Regions from separate parts of the Homo sapiens genome. Here regions 2, 3, 4 and 5 are each linked to region 1. The links are contacts of gene promoters, found by promoter capture Hi-C in blood cells and fetal thymus (Javierre and others, 2016). All regions are on one chromosome and are shown on one strand. Each heading gives the region's core, a stretch centred on a gene start or on the middle of the fragment in contact. The rest is flanking DNA. Distances are from core to core; before and after follow the strand shown.

Evidence for each region. The method cuts DNA at HindIII sites, captures the fragments that hold promoters and counts their contacts. A CHiCAGO score of 5 or more calls a contact.
Region 2: a fragment that was not itself captured here is called in contact with the fragment with the promoter of HTR2B in region 1 in 2 of 17 cell types (endothelial precursors and megakaryocytes); the score reaches 5.3 in endothelial precursors.
Region 3: a contact is called between a fragment that was not itself captured here and the fragment with the promoter of HTR2B in region 1, in 10 of 17 cell types (erythroblasts, megakaryocytes, total CD4 T cells and 7 more). The highest score is 11.9, in erythroblasts.
Region 4: a fragment that was not itself captured here is called in contact with the fragment with the promoter of HTR2B in region 1 in 8 of 17 cell types (erythroblasts, megakaryocytes, M1 macrophages and 5 more); the score reaches 9.0 in erythroblasts.
Region 5: a contact is called between a fragment that was not itself captured here and the fragment with the promoter of HTR2B in region 1, in 2 of 17 cell types (megakaryocytes and endothelial precursors). The highest score is 7.2, in megakaryocytes.

The regions. Positions count from the first base shown.
Region 1 is chr2:231,123,673-231,126,549 of GRCh38, forward strand. It overlaps HTR2B (5-hydroxytryptamine receptor 2B), which reads right to left and starts at 1,370. Exons shown (of 4, transcript NM_000867.5): 1 at 1,300-1,370; 2 at 1-458. The coding sequence starts at 92. The region is part of intron 16 of PSMD1 (proteasome 26S subunit, non-ATPase 1); the gene reads left to right. The HindIII fragment of the contact is 5,824 bases long and covers 1-2,877 here.
Region 2 is chr2:231,464,250-231,467,126 of GRCh38, forward strand. It overlaps NCL (nucleolin), which reads right to left and starts at 235. Exons shown (of 14, transcript NM_005381.3): 1 at 87-235. The coding sequence starts at 104. RefSeq lists enhancers at 1-644, 1-179, 690-789 and a silencer at 210-559. The HindIII fragment of the contact is 4,015 bases long and covers 1-2,877 here.
Region 3 is chr2:231,446,404-231,449,280 of GRCh38, forward strand. No RefSeq gene overlaps it. Among named protein-coding and RNA genes, the nearest start is that of SNORA75, 8.1 kb to the right of the region's middle. The HindIII fragment of the contact is 7,975 bases long and covers 1-2,877 here.
Region 4 is chr2:231,425,375-231,428,251 of GRCh38, forward strand. No RefSeq gene overlaps it. Among named protein-coding and RNA genes, the nearest start is that of SNORA75, 29 kb to the right of the region's middle. The HindIII fragment of the contact is 1,252 bases long and covers 801-2,052 here.
Region 5 is chr2:231,407,625-231,410,501 of GRCh38, forward strand. No RefSeq gene overlaps it. Among named protein-coding and RNA genes, the nearest start is that of B3GNT7, 13 kb to the left of the region's middle. RefSeq lists an enhancer at 2,784-2,877. The HindIII fragment of the contact is 3,590 bases long and covers 1-2,877 here.

The sequences.
Region 1 (2,877 bases), core at 120-2,619:
CAGTTAGAAGAGATAACGTGAACAAAGGTGCTCTGCAAAATGTGCTCAGGAATTGTGCTTTGAAGTTCAGACACTCTGTAAGAGAGAGCCATTTGCTGTTTTTCTGTGATTCAATCCCGTTCCGAACAGTGGTCAGCATGGTTAGTAGCTAAGCTGCTCATCTGTTTTTTTAAGGCATTGTAACCATGCCAAACACTCAAAAGCCAAAGTTGACACCTTCCTTTAAAAAAAAAAATTCAAGTTCTCTAAAATGAGCGCATACACACATCTGTCCATGTTTGTAGGTAAGATATCCAAGTATTTATTATTTTCTAGAGGCTTAAATTTAGGAAAGCTCAGTGAAAGAAACTGATAGCTGTGAAAAAAATAGGATATATATATATTTTTAGTTTCTCTCTCTCTCTTTTTCTGCCGTAGTTGTAGAGTCGTGTTTGAACTTGCATGCCAGAGAGTTCCCCCTAGATACAAAATACATAGACTGCATTATTTTATTCATTTCTGAAAGTGGTAAAAACACTTGAACTTCATAGCCCTTCCCTTCTTAGTAAGTCTGTTGTGCATTTGTGACAATGCAGCCAATTCTCCAAATATACTGTATTTCTGATGTTGCTCAGTTAATGAAACAGAAGACACATTAATTTTTTCAATGGTTATAATAAAAAGTTAGGTGTTTCCTGACCCTTGAATGTCTTTTTACCTTTACTTACAGAAGAATAGAAAAGTCGAAACACAATAGTTCAGAATAGAACTTTTAGTATGCGCTGGCCACCCACCTAGAAACACTCAAAGCCCAACAAGGGTCTAAATAAATGTTTTACCAGCTAGGGATCCTTATATGTAATTAGCTTTGTCTTATCAGGTTTGTGAGTACTGATATAAATGTCATTTTAGATTTCCTTTAGTTTGAGAGAAGGAAAAAAAAAGGTATTACTAGGATCCAAATAATTGTGTTTAGTAATTTCATCTCTCATGGTATGTCTTTGCAACAATTGTGTTCTAAATTTAATCACTAAATTTGCCAAATTCAAACCAGTTCTTTTTTTGTTTTAAGTAGTGTTTATTTTTTTAACCTTCCCAGTTGCCTTGAGAAGAAAGGGAAACCAAAAGGAAGATTAGACCATTTATTTGTTCATCAAATGTACAAATCACGTTTTTAAAAACTCTCCTTTAGCATTAGTAAATTTTTCATTTTGATTTTTAAACCGCTGAATAGAAATGAAAGATTATGATAGCAGAATTCTTGAAGATTAAAAAAAAAAACCTTTAGATTAATTCCATATGTGTTTATTAAATGCTTACCTCTGGTTTCGTTGTTATTTTGCTGAGCATGTCATCTTATCTGTTCACTAGACTTGCTTGCTGCTGTGACTGAAATCCTCCTCCCATTGACTTATTCTGAGCCTCCAGCACAGGCGGTTGAAAGCAGTGAAACAAATACGTTGTATAGCTGCAAGCATGCCAAGGAGGTTATTTCCTCTTTGATACATTCATTTTTAGAGAGTAGCAGCATTCATTGTAATTCATAAAACCACTGTTAAGCATGTTGAACCAGTTCATGGCCCTTATTCAAGTTATATTTTTAAGAGCTCTCTTTAATATTTGGGGGGACTGTAATAAACTTGATCATTTTAGCTTCAGATAGTTTTGTTTGGGGTTAAGCCTGAGCTGTTTTTCACATTTGAGAAAAAATAAGATATAATCTAGCTATTTTAGAGGTTTCATTCTTTGAAGATTCTGCCGTTTTAAAAGCCTATAGTGATTTCTACAGTTCTGATTTCTAGCAGTGAAACAAGATTCTTATCTAGCTTTTGTGCCTTTGCTGTGGAACACCATTAATTTGCTCTGGTTGCAACCTTATATAGAAGAGCACAGAAAGGCCTGAATTCTACATGTATACATAGGTTTTAGCAGAAACTTTTTTACTGCTTATTTTTAAACAGATGATCTCTGGGTTTAGGAGTGGTTCACAGCTTTTTTTCCCCATAGACTTTACGTTGGAGAAAATACAAGTAATGAAAATACGTTTTTGCCTTATTTCAGAAAATTGGTGTTTAAATCTTAATAGTTATGCTATTTAAGTTTTCTGTAACCATAAGACTAGCTTAGTATTAGAACCTCAGCATTCTCAAGGTTTCCTTTTAAAAGATCATTATAGATGCATATTTTAAAATTAATTACTTATAAATCAGTGATGACATTTGTGCCCTTTTCTTGTTTCAAATTTGTATTCCTTTGCTCATGTTGAATGTTATTGGAAAATACTTAGTTCATTTTAGCTCTGCTGAGCACTTCAGATTTTATTCAGTATTTGCTGCTTTTTTAAAAACTCAAAATTTACTATATTAGAAAAAATACTTGTGAAGAATTCTAGATGAAATAATATTCAAGAGAAATCAGATGTTTTTTAATGTACCAGAATTTCTATTCAGGAATATGAAAATATTTTAAGGCAAGGTGCGGTGGCTCATTCCTGTAATTCCAGCACTTTGGTAGACCAAGACAGGTGGATTGCTTGAGTCTAGAAGAGACCAGCTTGGGCAACATGGCAAAACCCCATCTCTACAAAAAAAACCACATAAATTAGCCAAGGGTGGTGGTTCACACCCGTAGTCCCAGCTACTGGGCGGCGGCGGAGGGGTTGAGGGTTAGGGGTCAGGGGAGACCTGAGGCAGGAGGATTGCATGAACCTGGGGGAGGTCGAGGCTGCAGTGAGCTGAGATCACACCACTGCGCTCCAGCTTGGGGTGACAGAATGAGATCTTGTCTCCAAGATTAAAAAAAAAAGAGGAAAAGAAATTATTTTTAAATACTGCTTAGTTGTGAGTTACACTTTGACATCTGTGCTTATGAAGGCAGGTAGGGATCTGCAAAACAAGT
Region 2 (2,877 bases), core at 225-2,724, 340 kb after region 1:
GCGCGCAGGCCCTCCTCCCCGCGGCGCCGCGCTCGCCCCTCGGAAAGCAGGCCTACACGTCTGCGCTCGCGCTCAAGGCCGTTTACCTTCGCGAGCTTCACCATGATGGCGGCGGAGTGTGAAGCGGACAAGTGGCGCAGATGAGTCCAGAAGAAGCCAAGCGACGGCGATGGCGGCCGCGGGTGCTGAAGATCCCGGAGCACGTACACCCGAAGGCCAGCGAGAGCTCGAGACTGAGGCGAAAGACTGAGCCTGCCCAGTAATCGCCTGTGGAAAGGCGACGACGGCGCCCTCGTGACTCCGCGCCGACCAACCAAAGCTCGCGGCCGTCCCCATGAGCCAATCGCGAGCCTCTAACCGTGAACGGCGCGGGGCGGGGAGTAGGCGGGCCGAGGCGGCCACGGGAGGGGGAGGGGCTGGCAACGGCGCCGTGGGGGCGGGGCTCGCTTTGTGCAAGGTCCGCGCTGATTGGGCCGTGGGCGCGCGGGTCCCGGCCTGCGTCGTGGGACTGGCGTTTTTGGCGCCGGCTGTGAGGGGAGCGCGGGGGTGGTGGAATCGGGCGGTCTCCGGTTCGCCAATGTGGCTGGGTCCGTAGGCTTGGGCAGCCTTGGAGTTCCTCAGAGACCCCGCGCTCGGTCCCGGCACGCACTCACGCCGCGGCTCCTGGTGGCCCTGGAGCGAGGAGTCCGCCAGCACCGGAAGTTCAGGGACCGCGGAGTTCCCGTTGGCCCTTTTGGAGGCACAGCTTATCCCTGCTTGCCCGCGAGCATGGGGCCGGAGGCACCCCCCGGCTGCAGGCAGTCTCCTGAGAGCTGTTAATAAAGGCAGTCGCGGGTCTGTGCGAGGTTTTCTGTGAGAAATGCACGAACCTCCCCTACCCCACAGAACCTCAAGCGGGAGATATTTCTCGACATGGGGAACGGCCTCGGAGAAGTAACTTTCTGGCCTCACAGGGCAGGGAGAGGGGCCTGGGAGGGCCGACCGCAGAGCCGGGCCTTTGACCGCCCACAGGTTCCCTGGTTATTATTTGGGTCGAATGCGCCAATTAAGGTGGTGGCTGCGAAGTCAGTGTCACCAGATGGCCCGGGAGCAGGTCGAGAGCCACCGGCAGGGTTCCCCGGCGGCAGGGCGAAGGAGGCCGCCAGTGACTTCCACGGTTAGCTTTGTGGGTGGGTCTCACTCGATGCCGGGCTTAGCAAACCAGAGCATTTCCCTCCGTCCAGGGCCTGCCGGGGATCCATCCCATCCATAGGTCCAGCTATGGATCCATCCATACCTCATTGTTCCTACAGAACCAGGATATCTGCAGCTACGGCTGTACTTGTTAAAAATCACCTCAGGCCGGGCGCGGTGGCTCAGATCCGCAATCCCAGCATTTTGGGAGGCCGAGGCGCATGAACCGGGGAGGCGGAGGTTGCAGTGAGCCGAGATCGCCCACTGCACTCCAGCCTGGGCGACAGAGCGAGACTCCGTCTCAGAAAGAAAAGCATTTGTTAAGGCCGGGTGCGATGGCTCATGCCTGTAATCCCAGTACTTTGGGAGGCTGATGCAGGAGGATCGCTTGAGTCCAGGAACTTGAGACCGGCCTGGGTAATATAATGCGACCCTGTCTCCACACAAAAAATAATTAGCGGGCATGGTGGCGCTCGCCTGGAGTCCCAGCTACTCGGGAGGCTGAGGTGAGAGGATCGCTTGAGCCCAGGAGGCGGAGGTTGCAGTGAGCCGAGATCGCGTCATTGAACTCCAGCCTGAGGAACAAGAGCGAAACCCCATCTCAAAAAAAAAAAAAAGAAAGAAAATAAAATTATTTGTTAAATGAATGAAGTATTTAGGTAGAAGCAGCAGCAGGGAGAGCCGGCATGGCTCAAGTGGCGTTGCTTTGGAGTTGGTCTGGGGCAGCAAAATAGCAATATCTAACACTTCATAATGCTGATTCAGTGCCAGGCGCTCTTCCAGCTCTTTACATATTAATTAACTTACTCTTCAAAATAACCTTTCCAAAAAGTTACCACTGTTTTACAGAAACTGGGACATAGAGGTAAATTAACTTGTCCAGGGTCGCATAGCTAGCAGTGGAGGCGTAGGATATAAGTGAAGACACTGCTGTGTCATCCCAGTTTCTTTTTTTTGAGACAGAATCTCACTCTGTCACCCAGGCTGGAGTGCAGTGGCAGGATCATGGCTCACTGCAGCCTTGACATCCCCAGCTATATCAATCCTCCCTCCTCAGCCTCCCAAAGGTGAGCCACCACGTCTGGCCTGTTTGTTTCTAAATGCTTTTTTGTTTTCTTTTGAAAACATGAGTATTTATTGAATTGTAAAGTATACACATAGTGCAAAATTCAAAAGATTCAAACAGATGCACAATAAAAGGTCTCCCTCCCGTTCCTGTCCCCTAGGCCTCCCAGTCTCAAGGCAGTGGCAGTCTCTTGTATATCCTTCCAGATTCAGCCGTACGTGCAAATAGACAAGTATATTTGTTATATTTAATACAAACGCTATCATATACACTGTTCTGAGCTCTTCTTTTGTGTTAACTATATGTATCTTGTAACTCATCCTACATCAGCACATGTAGAGCTGCCTCATTCTTTTTAATAGCTACATGGCATTCCTTGTGTGGAAGGATCACAATTTATCTAGTCACCATTGCTGGATAGTTAGGGTTTTTTGCTATGTTTGGCCATTACAAACTGCTATAGCAAATATTCTCACTTACGTTATTTTACACAAATCATATCTGTAGAACAGCTGGGTCAAGGGTATGGACTTTCACATTTTCATAGATGTTCTCCCAAGTGCTGTCTTTGGTTGGGGTTTTCCATGGCCGTTCCAGCCAAGAGCGACCCCACCTGCTCCAGCTGGCTCAGATTATCT
Region 3 (2,877 bases), core at 228-2,727, 320 kb after region 1:
TGTTAAATTTTGTGAAGTAAAGCTATTCACAATATTCCTTCATTATATTGAATATCTGGATGGGGTATGGTGGCTCACACCTGTAATCCCAGTACTTTGGGAGGATAAGGAGGGAGGATTACTTGAGGCTAGAAGTTCAAGACCAGCCTGGGCAACATAACAAGACTCCATTCCTACAAAAATTAAAAAAAAAAAATTTTTTTTAATTAGCCAGGCATGGTGGCATGCACCTGTGGTTTCAGCCACTTGAGAGGCTGAGGCAGGAGGATCGCTTGAGCCCTGGAGTTCCAGGCTGCAGCGAGCTACAGTCATGCCACTGCACTCCAGCCTGGGCAGTGGACAACAGAGCAAGACCCTGTCTCTTAAAAAAATAATAATAATAATAATAATCAGTACAATCTATAATGTGATGATACCCCTTCTTTCATTCCTGATAATGGCTATTTGTGTTTTGTCTTCTTTTTTTCTTGATCAGTCTTGCTAGAGGACTATCAATTTTATCTTATTTATCCTTTCAGTGAACTGATTTTTGTCTTGATTTTTTTACATCATTAATTGTTATTTTTATTATTTCCTTTTCCTATGTATTTCTTCTTTCTTTTTTACATGCTTAAGCTGGAAACAGACAGTTAACTTTAAAACTCTTTTTCTTTTCTAAAGTATTTTAAGTTATAAATTTCCATCTAAGAACTGCTTTAGCTGCATCCCAAAATGTGTTTTTATTGTCATTCATTTTGAAATAGTATCTAATTTCTCCCGTGATTTCTACTTTGATCCATTCAGAAGTGTTTTTCAGAAATGTAATTAATATACAAATGTTTAGGAGTATTCTAGGTATCTTATTATTCATTTCTAATTTATTTCTGTTATATCAGATTGTATATTTTCCAATCCTTTGAAATTTCTTGAGATTTGTTTTGGAGCCTAGAATATTTTGGTGAATGTTTTATGTGCACGTGAAAAGAAGATGTGTTTTTCAATAGCTAGACCTAAATGACCAACAGTTTTCAATTCTTCTATATCATTATTGATGTTTGTCTATTTACTTTATCTGTTACTAAATGAGGGGTGTTAAAATCTCCAACTGTGATTGAAAATTTGTCCATTTCTCTTTATCAATTTTTTGCTTCACAGGTTATAAAACTCTGTTATTGTTTGCATGCACATTTAAGATTGCTATGTCTTTCTAGTAAATTTACCTTTTTTTCATTATGAAATGTTGCTCTGGGCCGGGCGCAGTGGCTCACGCCTGTAATCCTAGCACTTTGGGAAGCCGAGGCAGGCGGATCACGAGGTCAGGAGATTGAGACCATCCTGGCTAACATGGTGAAAACCCGTCTGTACTAAAAATACAAAAAATTAACTGGGTGTGGTGGCGGGCGCCTGTAGTCCCAGCTACTCAGGAGGCTGAGACAGGAGAATCGCTTGAACCTAGGAGATGGAGGTTGCAGTGAGCCACTGCACTCCAGCCTGGGTGACAGCAAGACTCCGTCTCAGAAAGAAAGGTTGCTCTGGCCAGGTGTGGTGGCTCACACCAATAATCCCAGCACTTTGGGAGTCTGAGGCGGGAGATCACTTGAGCCCAGGCGTTTGAGACCAGCCTGGGCAACATAGCAAGACCCTGTCTCTATTAAAGAAAAAATTAAAAGAAAAAAGGAATTTGAAGGCAATTTCTATGCAGATTTTATGGTTTCCTCCTCTGTGTCTCCCTCATTTTCATTATTTCCCAAAATTTCCGACTCACACTCCAACCTGATTCCTCAGCACAGTAAGACATCCACTTTCTGCTCTATTCCCCCGGAGTCACGCAAGTTGGGTGATGCCCTCAGGGGAAAAGCTGGTTAAACATGGGTCTCATCCAGTGTGCTTCCCTTCTTTCCAGGATCGATACCATCTTCCCTGGGTTGCTCCAGTTTTCTATCTGGTATTATTGGAAGACAAATCAACTTTAGAAGTTGATCTTTAAATATTTCGCCCAGGGCCTGGTGCGATGGTTAATGCCTGTAATCCCAGCACTTTGGGAGGCTGAGGCAGGCGAATCACCTGAGGTCAGGAGTTTGAGACAGACTCGCCAGCATGATAAGACCTTGTCTCTACTAAAAGTACAAAAAATTAGCCAGGCGTGGTGGCACATGCCTGTAGTCCCAGCTACTCAGGAGGCTGAGGTAGGAGAATTGCTTGAACCTGGGCGGTAGAGGTTGCCGTGAGCTGAGATTGTGCCACTGCACTTCAGCCTGGGTGACAGAGAGAGACTCCATCTTCAAAAATAAAAATTAAAAAATAAAAAACTAAAAATAAAATAAATAAATAGTTTACCCAGAGTTTTTTTGTTTTGTTTTTTTTGAGACAGGCCTCCCTCTGTTGCCCAGGCTAGAGCGTAGTGGTGCAATCACAGCTCACTGCAGCCTCAACCTCCCCAGTGGCTCAGGTGATCCTCCCACTTTAGTCTCCCTAGTAGCTGGGACTATAAGAGCGTGACACCATGCCTGGCTAATTTTTTTTTTTTTTTTTTTTTTTATATATATAAGGTCTTGCTCTGTTGCCCAGGCTGGAGTACAGTGGTGCAATCTAGGCTCACTGCAACCTCTGCCTCCCAGGTTCCAGCGATTCTCCTGCCTCGGCTTCCCGAGTAACTGGGCCTACAAGCATACGCCACCATGCCCGGTTAATTTTTGTATTTTTAGTAGAGGTGAGGTTTCACCATGTTGACCAGGTTCGTCTTGAACTCCTGACCTCAGGTAATCCGCCCGCCTTGGCCTCCCAAAGTGCTGGGATTACAGGTGTGAGCCACTGCGCCAGGCCCGCCTGGCTAATTTTTGTATTTTTTGTAGAGACAGAGTTTCACCATGTTACCCAGGCTGGTATCAAACTCGGGGG
Region 4 (2,877 bases), core at 177-2,676, 300 kb after region 1:
GAAATAGTGGAGAGTTCTTGGTCTTGCTTGGTGTCTGGTCTGTCCTCCCAGCTCTGAACGACCACATCCTCTGCCAACATCAAGCAGGACTTCAGCTGGACAGGATGTGGCTCATGACAGCCACTTTCACATGGTTCCCAGAAGGGGAGCCAAAGGGTAGGAGGTCTCAGAGGTGGCAGCCTTCAGTCTCCTGCGAGAGGGAGAGGAGCCGCTGGTCTTCTCTTCCGCAAGTGACCAGTCAGGAGTCCGAGTCCACCCACAGAGGTTGCAGAAAGCAACAGGGCTTGCTCCAAAAGCCTGAACATCACTGGGGTCTGGGGCTGTAAGGGGGTACCGGGGGGCTCATGAGAGGGCAGTGTAAGTGCCTTCCTGCCCATCTTCAAGCCAGGCCCTGGAGCCAGCCACCTGCCTCAGCAATTTCCCCATTGCCAGTTCCAGGCCAGGTGAGACTCGTAAAATCACTCACAAAGCAGAATGTGTAGTCAGAGCTGGGGAAGCACCAGCCTGAGGGGCAGGAGGCTAAAGTCAGGAGCTGTGTACTAAGCAATTCACACGCTCCCTCTCCCCAGAGAGATCTGGCCTTTGTGCCTTTGTCCTGGCTCCTGGAAGACCACACCTGATGGTTTACCGTTACCCTAATGAGGTGACTCATGATGGGCCCCTGAGGGCGAGAGCTGTCAGAGCAACCCCCGGGGCGAAGAAACAAGCTAGAGACCCAGTTCAACCTCACAGGCAATGATTCCATCACCCTGCCCACAGAGGGAAACTGCAACACAAATTCTGACATCAAAGCCCGGGGAAGCTTCCGTGGTTGGCGGTACTCTGCGAATTGTCATACATCACAGCAAGGAGGAGGTGATGCCACACCCGTTGGCGGTACTCTGCGAATTGTCACACATCACAGCAAGAAGGAGGTGATGCCACACCGGTGGCTGCCAGCTCCTCATCAGGACCCTCCCTGGACTCTACCCTGTGTCTCTTCCTTTGGCTGGTTCTAATTAGTATCCTTTCCCGTTCATAAACATGGGGGCAATAGTGCTGTGCTTAAGGAAGCACCAGCAATTGGAGGTGAACCCAGACAGGAAGAATCCAGCCCCAGCCTTGTCCCGCCGTCTGAGGATGACACCAGGAAGTCCTGACCTCCCAGGACCTGAAGCAGAAGGGCGCTTGGTATGGTGACATGGGCGGGACGGTCTGCCACTGGGTCGACCAGCCCACCTTTGTGATGAACCTAAGTAGATTAATTTCATTTTCTGGGAGGGTGTAGTGGGTGGAGGGCACAGATAGTCAGCCAAAGTATCATCCCAGACCCAAAGAATCAGGGGATCTGTTTGCTTTTTCAATAAAAAGAGATGGGGGTAAGTTTGTGCAGATACGAGGAGCACTTAAAATCACAGGTAGAATAATAGGAGAAGAACAGAATTGTCTGAGTTTAGTGCAAGGAGAGGGAGAGGCCTCAGAGCCACTGGGGCAAACCCCAGCCCTTGCAAACAACGCTTCCTCAACACCCGTAGGCAGCCATGGTTTTTTCGGATGGATCTAGCTTGGGGCAACCACAGCTTAAGGAAGAACTAGGGGTACCGTGTCTTCAGCTGGGGAGCAGAGCCCACAGGCCTGCTGAGCCCTCAGCCTCCAGTTCCCCGGTGGGGCCTTCCAGCTTCACTGCTTCCTCAGAGCCTGTGGGAACATTGCTACCTCCACCCTTCACCATGATTGGTGTGGGCCTTTGCATTATCCTCTGTTAACCTGCAGGTGGTCTTAACCTGGGGTCCACGAATGCCCACAGGGTCCACAGAGAGCATTCAGGGGACTCATATGCATGGATGGGAATAAATAGACATCTTTGTTTTCACCAACCCTTAACTTTTCTTCAAAATTTGTTAAGGTAGTGGCAAAAAACCACAATAGTATTAGCAGTTCTGTGACTTTGTCACTATATCAGTCAGATCGCAACCAGAGAAACACAACCAGCAGGAGGTACAGCCCATGCTCCTGATTCGTGGTGGTTATGTTCTATAAAATCACCACAAACACTGGATTAGTGAATGTTGAAGCTTTGCTCCTGGGAGAAATTAGGTTCCTCCTTAGGTACCTGTGAGGGTCTGGTCACAGTATTTTCTTTCTTTCTTTTTTTTTTTTTGGACCGAGTCTCACTCTATTGCCCAGGCTGGAGTGCAGTGGTGTGTGGTGCATTCTCAGCAAACTGCAACCTCCACTGCCTGGATTCAAGTGATTCTCGTGCCTCAGCCTCCCAAGTAGCTGTGATTACAGGTGTGTGCCACCACGCCTGGCTAATTTTTTTTATTTTTAGTAGAGATGGGGTTTCACCATGTTGACCAGGCTGGTCTCAAACTCCTGGCCTCAAGTGATCCGCTCACCTCGGCCTCCCAAAGTGCTGGAATTACAGGCTTGAGCCACCATGCCCGGCCTAGTCACAATATTTTCCTCAGTCGACCAACGCATAACCTTTTTTTATGTTTGTTTCTGTTTAAAGACACTGAAGTTAATATACAGTTGATTCATTAATTTTTTTTTTTTAGATGCAGTTTTACTCTTGTTGCCCAGGTTGGAGTACAATGACATGATCTTGGCTCACTGCAACCTCCGCCTCCCAGGTTCAAGCCATTCTCCTGCCTCAGCCTGCTGAATAGCTGGGATTACAGGCATGTGCCACCATGCCCAGCTAATTTTTTGTAGTTTTTAGTAGAGATGGGGTTTCACCATGTTGGCCAGGCTGGTCTAACTCCTGACCTCAGGTGATCCTCCTGCCTCGGCCTCCTAAAGTGCCAGAATTACAGACATGAGCCACCACGCCCAGCCTGATTCATTAATATTGGACTCACGGCACCATAACTCACACCTGAATGAAGCTTCTCC
Region 5 (2,877 bases), core at 266-2,765, 280 kb after region 1:
CCTAGGTTTCCGTGTCTATACCTCCCGAGAAAAGAGAGGCATAGTTATAGGAAACTGGAAAGATAATGAGTGGCCCCCTGAAAGGATCATACAATATTATGGGCCTGCCACATGGGTACAAGACGGCTCATGGGGATACCAAACCCCCATCTACATGCTCAATCAGATCATACGGTTGCAGACCGTCTTAGAAATAATTACTAATGAAACTGGCAGAGCTTTGACTGTTTTAGCTCGGCAGGAAACCCAAATGAGGAATGCTATCTATCAGAATAGACTGGCCTTGGACTACTTGCTGGCAGCTGAAGGAGGAGTTTGTGGAAAATTTAACTTAACCAATTGCTGCCTACAAATAGATGATCAAGGACAGGTGATTGAAAACATAGTCAGGGACATGACAAAGTTGGCACACACGCCTATACAGGTTTGGCACAAGTTTGATCCTGAGTCTTTATTTGGAAAATGGTTTCCAGCTATAGGAGGATTTAAAACCCTCATTGTAGGTGTATTGCTAGTAATAAGAACTTGCTTGCTGCTCCCCTGTGTATTACCCTTGCTTTTTCAAATGATAAAAGGTATTGTTGCTACTTTGGTTCATCAGAAAACTTCAGCACACGTGAATTATATGAATCACTATCGCTCTATCTCGCAAAGAGACTCAAAAAGTGAGGATGAGAGTGAGAACTCCCACTAAAAAGTGAAAATTCTCAAAGGGGGGAAATAGGGAATGAGACCACCACTTCTCCTGTTGTCCTTCCCAGCTTCTCCCCAACCTCCCCTTTTCCCTAGTTTATAAGACGGGAGAAAAGGGAGAAAGCAAAAAGCTGGAAAGAAACAGAAGTAAGATAAATAGCTAGACGACCTTGGCGCCACCACCTGGCCCTGGTGGTTAGAATGATAATAATAATATTAACCCCTGACCAAAACGACTGGTGTTATCCGTAAATTCCAGACATTGTGTGAGAAAGCACCGTAAAACTTTTTGTCCTGTTAGCTGATGTGTGTAGCCCCCAGTCACGTTCCTCACGCTTACTTGATCTATTATGACCCTTTCACGTGGACCCCTTAGAGTTGTAAGCTCTTAAAAGGGCTAGGAGTTTCTTTCTCGGGGAGCTCGGCTCTTAAGACGCGAGTCTGCTGACGCTCCCGGCCGAATAAAAACCTCTTCCTTCTTTAATCTGGTGTCTGAGGAGTTTTGTCTGCGACTCATCCTGCTACACTGCTATTTCTCCCTCCTCAGCACAGGTCTTCCCACAGTTCTCTCTTGGCCAGCCGGCTGCATAATTTGCAGAGCCCAGTGCAAAATGAAATTACAGGACCCTGGTTTTAAAAAGGTATTAAGAATTTTAAAGGTCAGGCTCACGCCTGTAATCCCAACACTTTGGGAGGCTGAGGTGGGAGGATGGCTTGAGCCCAGGAATTTGGGACCAGCCTGGGCAACATAGAGAGACCCCTGTCTCTACAAAAAAAAAAATTTTTTTTTTTTGAGACAGAGGTCTCATTCTGTCGCCCAGGCTGGAGTGCAGTGGTGCGATCTCAGCTCACTGCAAGCTCTGCTTCCCAGGTTCGCGCCATTCTGCTGCCTCAGCCTCCCGAGTAGCTGGGACTACAGGCACCCACCACCACGCCTGGCTAATTTTTTTCTTAAAAAATTTTAAAATTACCTCAGAGTGGTGGCACGCACCTGTCTGGGGCCAAGGTTGCCAGAGATTGCCTCGGGATGCTGAGGTGGGAGGATCCCTTGAGCCCAGGAGGTCGAGGCTGCAGTGAGCTGTGATCGCATCACTGCACTCCAGCCTGGGTGACAGAGCGAGACACTGTCTCAAAAAAAAAAAAAAAAAAAAAAAGAATTTAAGATTGCCACAGCAGAGCATTGAGCATTAAACCAAGTGCTGGGAGCTTCTGAGGGAGGCCTGCGACTGTGATGCCAGCCCTATTTGCCCCTCCTCATCCTCAGAAGCCAGGTCCTGCTCTGGGCTGCAGAGAGGGGATTGGGGCTCACAGTTCAGCATGGGAGAGGGCAGCCCAGGGACACCCAGAAAATGGAGGTGTACAGGCCACAGGACCCAGGCCCAGGTGGAGGCCCAGAGACGGTTATGGGTTCAGCTGCCCCTGAAGGATGAGGCAGAGGGAACCACATATACCAAGGGCTGCTGGGAGCAGGGTGGATGCATTCTGAAGCGGAAAGGAGCTCCTCTCGGGGCTGGACCTGGGGTGAGAGAAGGGGTGGGAGGCTGGGAGGCAGGCAGGGCAGTTTCTCAGGTCTTCTAGGTTCAGGAGTACTTTAACTTTATCCTGAGCACAAAGGGACAAAGAGCAGGGGTTCACGGCAGCCTGAGGGAGCAGAGGGCAGTTTTGAGGCACCTCCACCCCTCCCTCTGGCGCACTTTGGCCCATTCTGGCCAGCTCCAGTGGGGCCCCACTCTGGAAAATCAGGCATTTAGTTTTGCTTCCTGGTAATGATAACAACTGACATTTTATGGAGCACATTTCATATGCCAGGCACCCTGGTAAACATTTAACGTGTAGTCAATATGACTTTAACTCAGGGTACAAATATGGTTACTTTTTAATTTTTCTCATTGATTGCTCAAATCCCTCATGTACCATTATTGGCAGAAAAATCCAATATCAGCCTCTTGGAACCCACTCTCAAATTGTCCAAGAACCTCAGGGATTTCCCTCCTCCAAAGAGAGGGTTCTCTGGAAAGTCTGAGCAGTCATCTCCAGTTGTTCCCTCTCTCTCCACACAGGGGCGCTGTGGAACAGCGGGCCTGCACAGTCCTGTGGCTTCTGAGGCTTGGCTACCTTCACTGCACAGGCTGCGGTGGGGCCTATGCTTCCAAAACAAAGTTACCCTTCTCTCAGTCACCCTCA